3 separate regions of the Homo sapiens genome follow, and all the other regions are linked to region 3. Evidence: promoter capture Hi-C in 16 types of primary human blood cells and fetal thymus (Javierre and others, 2016). All regions are on one chromosome and are shown on one strand. Each heading gives the region's core, a stretch centred on a gene start or on the middle of the fragment in contact. The rest is flanking DNA. Distances are from core to core; before and after follow the strand shown. Region 1 overlaps RNF139 (ring finger protein 139). Region 2 has its middle 6.7 kb from the start of TYW2. Region 3 holds the start of NTAQ1 (N-terminal glutamine amidase 1).

Region 1 (3,108 bases), core at 570-3,069, 1.1 Mb before region 3:
GCTCTCATTTTAAAAACCAATATCCTAAGTAACAAGTCTCCAAAGTAATCATCTTTCTCATGGCCTTTGCAGAATAATATCAAAGTTTCACTGCATTTTTACATTAGACATGAAAGCCTTTCTTGGTATTTAAACTGTAGGTCTAAGAAAATATAAAAGTCCAGAGACAGTTTCTCATTAGGATTTGGAAGTGACTTGCACAAGTAATCAAGACTGTATATAAATGCTGCTTTATAAAAAATTTTGAGAACAGAATTTACTGAAATCACAACTCAGAGATCTCAGTCCAATTCTCCAGTGATTAAGAGAGTTCACTAGAGTTTTCAAGGTAGCCAAAAAGAGGCAGGTATCCAAATCAATTCAGGAACTTTGAAACTATATATGAACTCAACTCATGAAAGAGTTCAGGCCTTTTCAATTTGGATTACCAAAAACAGGCAAATAAAAACAAAAGAAAAAATAAAAACTTACTATACATGTTACATAACAAAGTGTTTCACTCTTTTATGTGTAAAGTCTATTCATACCCTTACCCTCTTTTGGAAACTTATGACTAAAAATCAGGGTACAAAACATAATATTTACAATTCTCCAAGTACCCGAAATACCTCTAAAACAAAAAGCAACCTGTGGAAAAACATTTCAATACCTGACAGAATAAATATGGAAAAGCACAGAAATAAATGTTACTACTACCTTACTCCCAAGGGAGCCTTCCGCAATGAAGTTTACAACAAAGTGTCTTGAAATGTTGTTAATCTGTTGGTATACTTGATAAATTATAAAGAAAACATTTCTATTGGATTCTCATTTTAGGTTGAAAAAAAACCTGGTATTCTAAGTATTAACACAAAATTAAACTTTTGCTTTTAAACTAAACTTATAATAAGTATGCTTTTATCAAAAATATATGAACATGGATTTTAAAAAGCCAAACCCTACAGAGAGGTGTTAAATGAAGAGTTAAAGCAAGTTTTTCTAGTTTGTCTTTCCCATCTGTGATATCATAAAAAAAATATTAATATTTGGTCTTTGTCCCATTTTCTGACATAGCTTCTAAAATCCTTGGAATCTCTGGAGTGATGACTGTTTTGTACAATAATCAGATGACTGGTGCCTGGGGGCCCCTAGATAGCTTCAGGATGGGGGCTAGGTAGCCAGGGGAATCAGCCCAGTGATTAAGGGTTATAACTTTGATTCCTACCCCCAGCCGCCACTTCTGGGAAGAAAGAAGCTGAAACTTGAGTCCATAAACCAATGACTAGTGATCTAATCAATCTTGCCTATTTAATGAACTTCCATAGAAGCCCAAAAGGACTGAGTTCTGTGAGCTCTCAGATAGCTGAACACTGAAGCTCCACGCCCCTTCTCCTCTTCTCTCCTTCTTTGTCTCACCTTGTACATCTCCTTCCATCGGGTTAATTCATCTGTGTCCTTTGTAATTGCCTTTATAATAAATGGGTAAATGTAAGTACAGTAGTTCCCCCTTACCCAAGATTTGACTTCCTTTTTTTTTTTTTTTTTTTTTTAGTGATGGAGTCTCGCTCTGTTGCCCAGGCTGGAGTGCAGTGGTGCGATCTTTTGATTAACATAGGTTTTTAACCTCAATATCATTCGGTTTATCAATCTTCATTATGTATTTGCTTTTATATATTTTTAAGGATTTCTTCCTTAATCTAAGATTGGAAAAATAAAATATTCCATATTTTTTTCTAAAAATTTAAAGTTCTGCATTTCATATTTACATATACATCTAGGTAAGAATACACTTAGAAATGACTATTTTTTTTTTTTAAGAGACAGGGTCTTGCTCTGTCACCCAGCCAGGCTGGAGTGCAGTTATGCAATCATAGCTCACTTGCAGCCTTGAACTCCTAGGCCCAAGCGATCTTCTCACCCCAGCCTCCTGAGTAAGATAGGACTACAGGCACCCACCACCAAGTATGGCTATTATTTTAAATATTTATTTTTGCAGAGACAGGGTCTCACTACACTGCTCAACCTAGAAGTGACTGTCTATATATTGACATAAGGTAGACATCTAGTATAATTTATTTCCAAAGGTGTAACAAAATGATCATTAATTCAACAGTCCATATTTACCTCAATGTACTTCAATTCTATCTCTGAAACACATTATTTCTATATATACATTGGTGTCTGTTTCTGGGCTATGTAATTATAAATAAGGCTAAGTACTAATCTATTTGTCTATCCCAATGGTTCTCAACCATGATTTGGCAATATCCAGGGACAGTTTTGGCTGTCACACTGGGGTGTGGGGGTGCAAGGTGCTACTGGCATCTAATGGGCAGGGGATAGTGATGCTGCTAAAAATCTTACAGTGCACAGGAGAGCTCCCATCCGCAAACAAAGAATTATCCTGTCCAAAATGTCAATACTGCCACTGTTGAGAAATCTCTGTCTATTCCTCTGCCAGTGATAATTACTTCGGCTTTGTTTTTTCACTTCAGAGGTTTTCTGAAGTCTTTTTCGGCACCAAAAATAGCTATCTCATTTCTTTCAAGAACTTTATTGCATGGCTAGACCTAATACAATGAACAGATTTGTATCAATACATATTTAGATTAAGTTTGTTGCTTTGTTATTTCCAGTAATGCTTGCCCATAGTCCTTAAGCAAACTATCTCTCTAGGCCAATTCCCTAGAATTGAAATTGTGAGTCAAAAGTTGTACGAGCCAGGCATCCCAGCTACTTGGGAGGCTGAGGCAGGAGAATCGCTTGAACCTGGGAGGTGGAGGTTGCAGTGTGCTGAGATCACGCCACTGCACTCCAGCCTTGGTGACAGAGTGAGACTGTCTCAAAAACAAAACAAAACACTGAGAAGTCAGTTGTAAATGACAGTTGATACTGCCAAATGGTTTTACACTGAAATTAAGAGTCTTCCGGGCCAGGCACGGTGGCTCACGCCTGTAATCCCAGCACTCTGGGAGGACGATGTGGGCAGATCACCTGAGGTCGGGAGTTGGAGAACAGCCTGACCAACATGGAGAAAACCTGTCTCTACTAAAAATAGAAAAAAATTTGCCGGGGGTGGTGGCGCTTGCCTGTAATCATCCTAGCTACTCGGGAGGCTGAGGCCGGAGA
Region 2 (3,298 bases), core at 781-3,280, 1.0 Mb before region 3:
CGTATGTTTTTTTTTTTTGGGGGACGGAGTCTTGCTCTGTCACCCAGGCTGGAGTGCAGTGGTGTGATACTGGCTCACTGCAATCTCTGCCTCCTGGGTTCAAGCGATTCTCTTGCCGCAGCCTCCCGAGTAGCTGGGACTACAGGTGCCCACCACCACCCCTGGCTAAGTTTTGTATTTTTAGTAGAGATGGGGTTTCACCATCTTGGCCAGGCTGGTCTGGAACTCCTGACCTTATGATCCACCCGCCTCAGCCTCCCAAAGTGCTGGGATTACAGGCATGAGCCACCGCACCTGGCCAATTTTTGTACTTTTATTAGAGACAGGATTTCACCATGTTGGCCAGGCTGGTCTCAAACTGCTGACCTCAGGTGTGATTTGCCCACCTCAGCCTCCCAAAGTTTACAGGCGTGAGCTGGGATTACAGGTGTGAGCCACTGCACCCAGCCTGCAGTGAACCTTGATTGCGCCACTGCATTCCAGCCTGGGCAACAAAGCAAGACCCTAAAAATAATAAAATGCAGCTCTGGTGTTCCTTCCTGTAGGAAGTGTTTCCAAGTTCTTTGCTTTTTTTTTTTTAACAGCTTTATTGAGATATAATTCACATACTATAAAATTCACCCTTTTAGTATATATGTTGCTGAAGCAAGTAGGGAAATTCACCCTTTAAAAATATACAATTAAATGGCTGGTTCATATATTATAGAGTTGTGCAATCATCACCACCATCTATTTTCAGAACATTTTCATCTTCCCACAAAATCAACCCAGTACCTATTAGCAGTCATTCTCCATTCTCCACTCCCCCCAGCACCTGGGAACTTACTTTCTGTTTCTATAGATTTGCCTATTCTGGCCATTTCATATAAATGGGACCATACAATAAATGACCTTTTGCAACTGGATTCTTTCACTCAGCATAATGTTTTCAAGGTTCATCCAGAAACCATGTATCAGTACTGCATTCCTTTTTACAGATTCCATTGTATATATATGACATTTTGTTTAACCACTCATCAGTTGATGGACTTTGGGTTGTTTCCACATTTTGTCTATGAATAATGCTGCTACAAATATTCACGCACAAGCCTTTGTGTGGACATATGTTTGCATTCTCTTGGGTATATATACCTCTATCACATATGTCTTATTTATTTGGTTAATTCACTGCTGGGTAATATGCTAACCCTATGTTCAACACTTTAAGGAACTGCCACAACTGTTTCCCAAGTGAACAGGGTTGGATCTTTATTTTAAACATTTTAAATGCTTGTAATCATTTTAAATAATAGTTGAGTTTGAAAATGACTACTTTTACAGCTTGTGCAATATAAAGTGGCTGTACCCTGAGGCTGTTCAGAGTGATATATATTGGATTTTGTCACATGTATGCCCAGGGTAGGAGAAAATGAAATTTAAATTCTATTTGTTTCTTACTATTTTTAATTTCTGTTCGTGTATGGTTTTTCTGTTTTTGAGACAGAGTCTTGCTCTGTTGCCCAGGCTGGAGTGCAGTGGCACAATCTCGGCTTACTGCAACCTCCACTTCCTGAGTTCAAGAGATTCTCCTGCCTCAGCCTCCCAAGTAGCTGGAATTATAGAAGCCCACCACCACACCTGGCTTATTTTTGTATTTCTAGTAGAGACAGGGTTTTGCCATGTTGGACAGGCTAGTCTCAAACTCCTGACCTCAGGTGATCCACCTGCCACAGCCTCCCAAAGTGCTGGGATCACAGGCATAAGCCACCGCACCTGGCCTATTTGTGTATTTCAAAGGCACATATTGTACTCATATATTACTGCACTCATATAATTTTTTAAATTACAAAGTTAATAAAGCAGCTCAAGTTTGAGGGAGTTTTTAAAAATTACTATTTTTTAAAAATCACAATATCTCTATCAGGTGGCTGCATTGACTGGCAACTAATACTGAAGCTTGCATGGGAAGCCTTTAGAGCTTATACAAATTGCTGGACTGAGATGACAAGGACCCCATGAGCCTCCCGAACCCTTCAGTCTTTTTTCATTGGTTCCATAAGATGCCTCTTCCCAACCAGGGCAATCCAGCAAGTCCTCAAAGAAAACTAAAATGTAAATGAACATGCTTAAGTAGAGAAAAAGCTTAAGGGAGGCTTCTGTTCTTCCATCCACACATTAACTCCTGCTCATTCTTTAACACTCCCTTAGGCATCCCTGCTCCTACCTTCCTAGTCACCCTGTTCAATCCTCAACCCACATCCTCAAATGAGGGTGGCTGCCTCTCCTATGTGTGCCCATAAAAACCCTTATTTCTATCTAAGCACTCAGTAAACAGCACTGACATTGTTTTCTCTGTATCTGTGTCACCAGATAGTGATCCCATTGTGGGCAGGACTCAGTTTTATTCATCTCTATGTCACTGGCTCCAAGCACAGCGCTTAATGGAGAGAGTACACAGTATCTCCTAATTAATCAGTGAATGGCTTTTCAAAATAATGACATTCTGCCTCAAGTAGGCCAGACATACAGCAACCCCTCACAGCCAAATTGGAAAGTGGTGGTTCATCATATACAAAGACTGACTGATAGAATGAAGTGTGAAAGGAAAATAAAATGTCAGACCCCAGGCCGGGCGCAGTGGCTCACACCTGTAATCCTAGCACTTTGGGAGGCTGAGGTGGGTGGATCACCTGAGGTCGGGAGTTCGAGACCAGCCTGACTATGGAGAAACCCTGTCTCTACTAAAAATACAAAAATTAGCCGGGCGTGGTGGCACATGCCTACAATCCCAGCTAATCGGGAGGCTGAGGCAGGAGAATCGCTTGAACCTGGGAGGCGGAGGTTGTGGTGAGCTGAGATCGTGCCATTGCACTCCAGCCTGGGCAACAAGAGCGAAACTCCATCTCAAACAAACAAACAAACAAACAAACAAGTCAGACCCCAAACTTACTATGCCAAAGGGAAAAGTGAAGCCTGGAAACTCAGTCATGCAAAAAAACTGCCTTTCCTTTTGCCTAAACACAGCCGCAAGATAGAAGATTCCATATCTCCTCAGTTGGCCTCCCTTACCTTGACAATGTAAACAGCTTATCTTCACAGATACAGCACAAAGTCAAGACTAGAAACCATCCCTCTGCCCACCTCAGACATATGCATATTTACTGAGTCCTGACAAATGCTTAATTGACTGTTCCTCTACCCCACTTCACATGTAACATGTGGATTCAGTGAGCACTAATCAAAGCCTCACAAGAATGTGACCACTTAACTCACTACCTACACTCCTTTTTGTTTTTTTCCTCTACCCCTACTCCTCCTA
Region 3 (3,050 bases), core at 302-2,801:
TGCACGCCACCACACCTGGCTAATTTTTGTATTTTTAGTAGAGGCAGGGTTTCTGCATGTCGGCCAGGCTGGTCTCAGACTCCTGGCCTCAAGAGATCCGCCCACCTCGGCCTCCCAAAGTGCTGGAATTACAGGCGTGAGCCATCGCACCGGGCCTTATCTGCTTTTCTCTCAAAATGAAAGAACCAAGGGATCCATGAGGGAATTTGTCGATTTTGTTCACTGCTATATCCCCAGTGCCCAGAAGTATGCCACATACTCCAAGTGCCTAATAAACATTTATTGAATGAATGAATAAAACAATGACTGGACATTAGGGAGGAGAACTAACGGGATTTAGAAGAGAGGCAGGACAGAAAAATAGTGCAGTAGTTAAGATGCATGAACTTCAGAATCACGAAGAGGTTCCAGTTTCAGCACCACCACTTGCTAGATGTGTGATTTGGGGGCACAGAACAGCCTCTCTGTGGCTCAGTCTTTTTATTAGTAAAATGAGGATAACGATAATAAAAGAAGGTACCTCCTGGACATCGATGGAAGCACCTGCCACTGAGCCTGACATGCAATCAGGGCCGAACAAATGTTAAGCTCTTGGTGGCATTGGTTTAGTGACCAGCAGAAGGGGGAGGAGTAGGTTTAGATAGCACTGAGGTTTCCTGTACAAGGACTAGAAGCTGGGGAAGAAGCCATTACTCAGGAAAGAGTAGGTATGAGGACTAAGGCAAGGGCGGTACTTCAGCTGCAGAGGTGGCCTAGGACAGGGGTGCACTGCGTGGATTCCGGGGCCAGACCCTGACTGTAAATCCCCACTCCTTCATTCACAAGCTACGTGGCCCTGCGCAAATTACTTGCAGCCCTCTGTGCTTCAGTGCTCTCATCTTTCAACTGGGGATAACAATACCTACCTCTTACGGTTATTGTGATGCTCAGTGATTTAGTTTACCTAAACCACCCAGAACAACGCGTGGCATATAGCAAGTGCTGTATGAAAAACTCTCCGTGCCTTCATTCTCTTACAAAATTAAAATGACCTTCACCTCAGTCTGAAACCCCACAGGCTTCAGCAGAGTAACCCCCAAAGATTTTCAGAGCTCCACCCTTCCTGGCCCCGAAGCAGAGATCTGCTGAGCAAATCCAACCGACAAGCGCCAGGCACAGGTAATGCACTATCGACCCTATGATTCCGGACGAATTCCCAACCCCATCCAATAGCCCACGCTCTACTCAAGAGACGAGAGCTGCCATTCCCGCTCCCTCCTCCCGCAAAACTGTAGAACCCGCCGGTAGAGGCCGGGAGCGCCCCCGAGGAGGGGCCGGGAAGAGGCGGGGCCCGGTTGCGACTCGCCGCCCGGGAGCCTGGGAGACCCAGAGGCTGCGCCCGCGCCCCCTCACCAGTAGCAGCTGCTGTAGACGCAGGCGTCCCGCGGGGGGCTGGCCGGCTGGTAGTGGACAGCAGCGGGGCCATTACCTTCCATGGCCGGCTAGCTGGGCCAGGGCCCGGGCCGGAGGAAGACCGACTGGACCAGACGTAGGAAAGGGCGGGCTTGTAGTGGCCCGCGTGGGTTCCCGGCGTGGGGTGGGCGGAGCCCGGGGGGAGAGGGCCGGGGCAGTTTCCGGGTGGTGGGGCCAGTAGCGCGGTGGGCGGGGCCAGGGCGGGACTAGCAGCACGAGTTCCCGGCGCGGGAAGCCCGGGACGAAGTAGGCGGAGCTCGGGGCAAGCGGCGCCAGTTCCTGGGAGGGTGGAGCCCAAGCGAAGTGGGCGGGTCCGGGGTGGGGTGAGTGGCGCGAACTCCCGGTGGGCGGAGCCCGGGACGAGGAGGACAGCGCGCTTCCGGGTAGGCGGAGCCCGGCTGGTGGGTGGGGCCCGGGATGGGGCGGGACTGGAGGACCGGGCTCTGGTGGGCGGAGTCAGGGGCGGGGCCCCGGTGAGCTTTGGGAGAAGAGGGGTCTCTGGCGGCGGCTTGGGGAGGAGCTAGGTTTGGGCTTGGAGTTGGGCCCTGAATGGCGCTTTGCTGTGAATCTCCGCGGGGAGGCTCTTCCAACCAGGGGCTGAGCTTCTGCGCTGTGGAGAAGCCAGGTGAGACACTGAAATAACAGAGGTTTGGGTGTGAAAATCCACGCTTCTGCACTCAGCCTGGAGTCTGCGGGAGCCCAGAGAAGAGGGGAGTGGAGGTTAATTCCAATATGACCGCATCGAGGACGCTTTCCGAAAGGGATAGCACCCCAAATCTCACTCTATTGTAACTTAATCTTTTAAATTGGAAGGCCTGTAGCTATTGGCTCGAAAAGATATATTAATTCCCTGATACAGTAAATTTGAAAAAAAAAAGTTTAAAGAGTCCATATGGTATCCTTTTTGTGTTAATCATATATTTTGTTCAATTACTGGCAGTCTGGAAGAAAAGACACCATATTGTTAAAATAGTGTTTAGGGCCGGGTGCGGTGGCTCACGCCTGTAATCCCAGCACTTTGGGAGACCGAGGCGGGTGGATCACGAGGTCAGGGGTTCGAGACGAGCCTGGCCAACATGGTGAAACTCCGTCTCTACTAAAAATACAAAAATTAGTTGGGCGTGGAGGCGCGCGCCTGTAATCCCAGATACTCGGGAGGCTGAGGCAAGAGAATCGCCTGAACCCGGGAGGCGGAGGTTGCAGTGAGCCGAGATGGTGCCATTGCACTCCAGCCTGGGCAACAGGGTGAGACTCCGTCTCAAAAAAAAAAAATAGTGTTTATCTCTGGTGAATGAATGATATTAATATCAGGGACTTTCAGTTTCAAGGTCTTTACACTTTACAGTCTTCTGAATTGTTTATATTTGCAATGAGCATAGCTAGCTAATCAGGGTACTTCCCATTATAAAAACTGAGATGTTTACATTGATTTTAGCCATCCACAGTTGGATTCTCCAATCTCTTCAGTCTCAAAGCTGATAAATCCTAAAGACTTGGAGCACAGTTCCTGTGTCAATTACCAATTTTATTGCCTCTCAGCTCCTAATACAAACTTCCACATAGCCTCTATGCTATATAACAACTCTGGTAAACATTTC

Evidence for each region. Contacts are between HindIII fragments. The CHiCAGO score rates a contact against its expected background, and 5 or more counts as called.
Region 1: a fragment that was not itself captured here is called in contact with the fragment with the promoter of NTAQ1 in region 3 in 1 of 17 cell types (neutrophils); the score reaches 9.6 in neutrophils.
Region 2: a fragment that was not itself captured here is called in contact with the fragment with the promoter of NTAQ1 in region 3 in 2 of 17 cell types (M1 macrophages and naive CD8 T cells); the score reaches 6.0 in M1 macrophages.

What each region holds. Positions count from the first base shown.
Region 1 is chr8:124,478,826-124,481,933 of GRCh38, reverse strand. The region is part of intron 1 of RNF139 (ring finger protein 139); the gene reads right to left. Among named protein-coding and RNA genes, the nearest start is that of RNF139, 5.5 kb to the right of the region's middle. The HindIII fragment of the contact is 4,337 bases long and covers 1-3,108 here.
Region 2 is chr8:124,455,870-124,459,167 of GRCh38, reverse strand. No RefSeq gene overlaps it. Among named protein-coding and RNA genes, the nearest start is that of TYW2, 6.7 kb to the right of the region's middle. The HindIII fragment of the contact is 186 bases long and covers 1,938-2,123 here.
Region 3 is chr8:123,415,275-123,418,324 of GRCh38, reverse strand. NTAQ1 (N-terminal glutamine amidase 1) reads right to left here and starts at 1,551. Exons shown (of 6, transcript NM_018024.3): 1 at 1,393-1,551. The coding sequence starts at 1,475. It also overlaps a transcript of ATAD2 not described here. RefSeq lists silencers at 813-862, 1,183-1,382, 1,493-1,972 and an enhancer at 785-1,379. The HindIII fragment of the contact is 17,257 bases long and covers 1-3,050 here.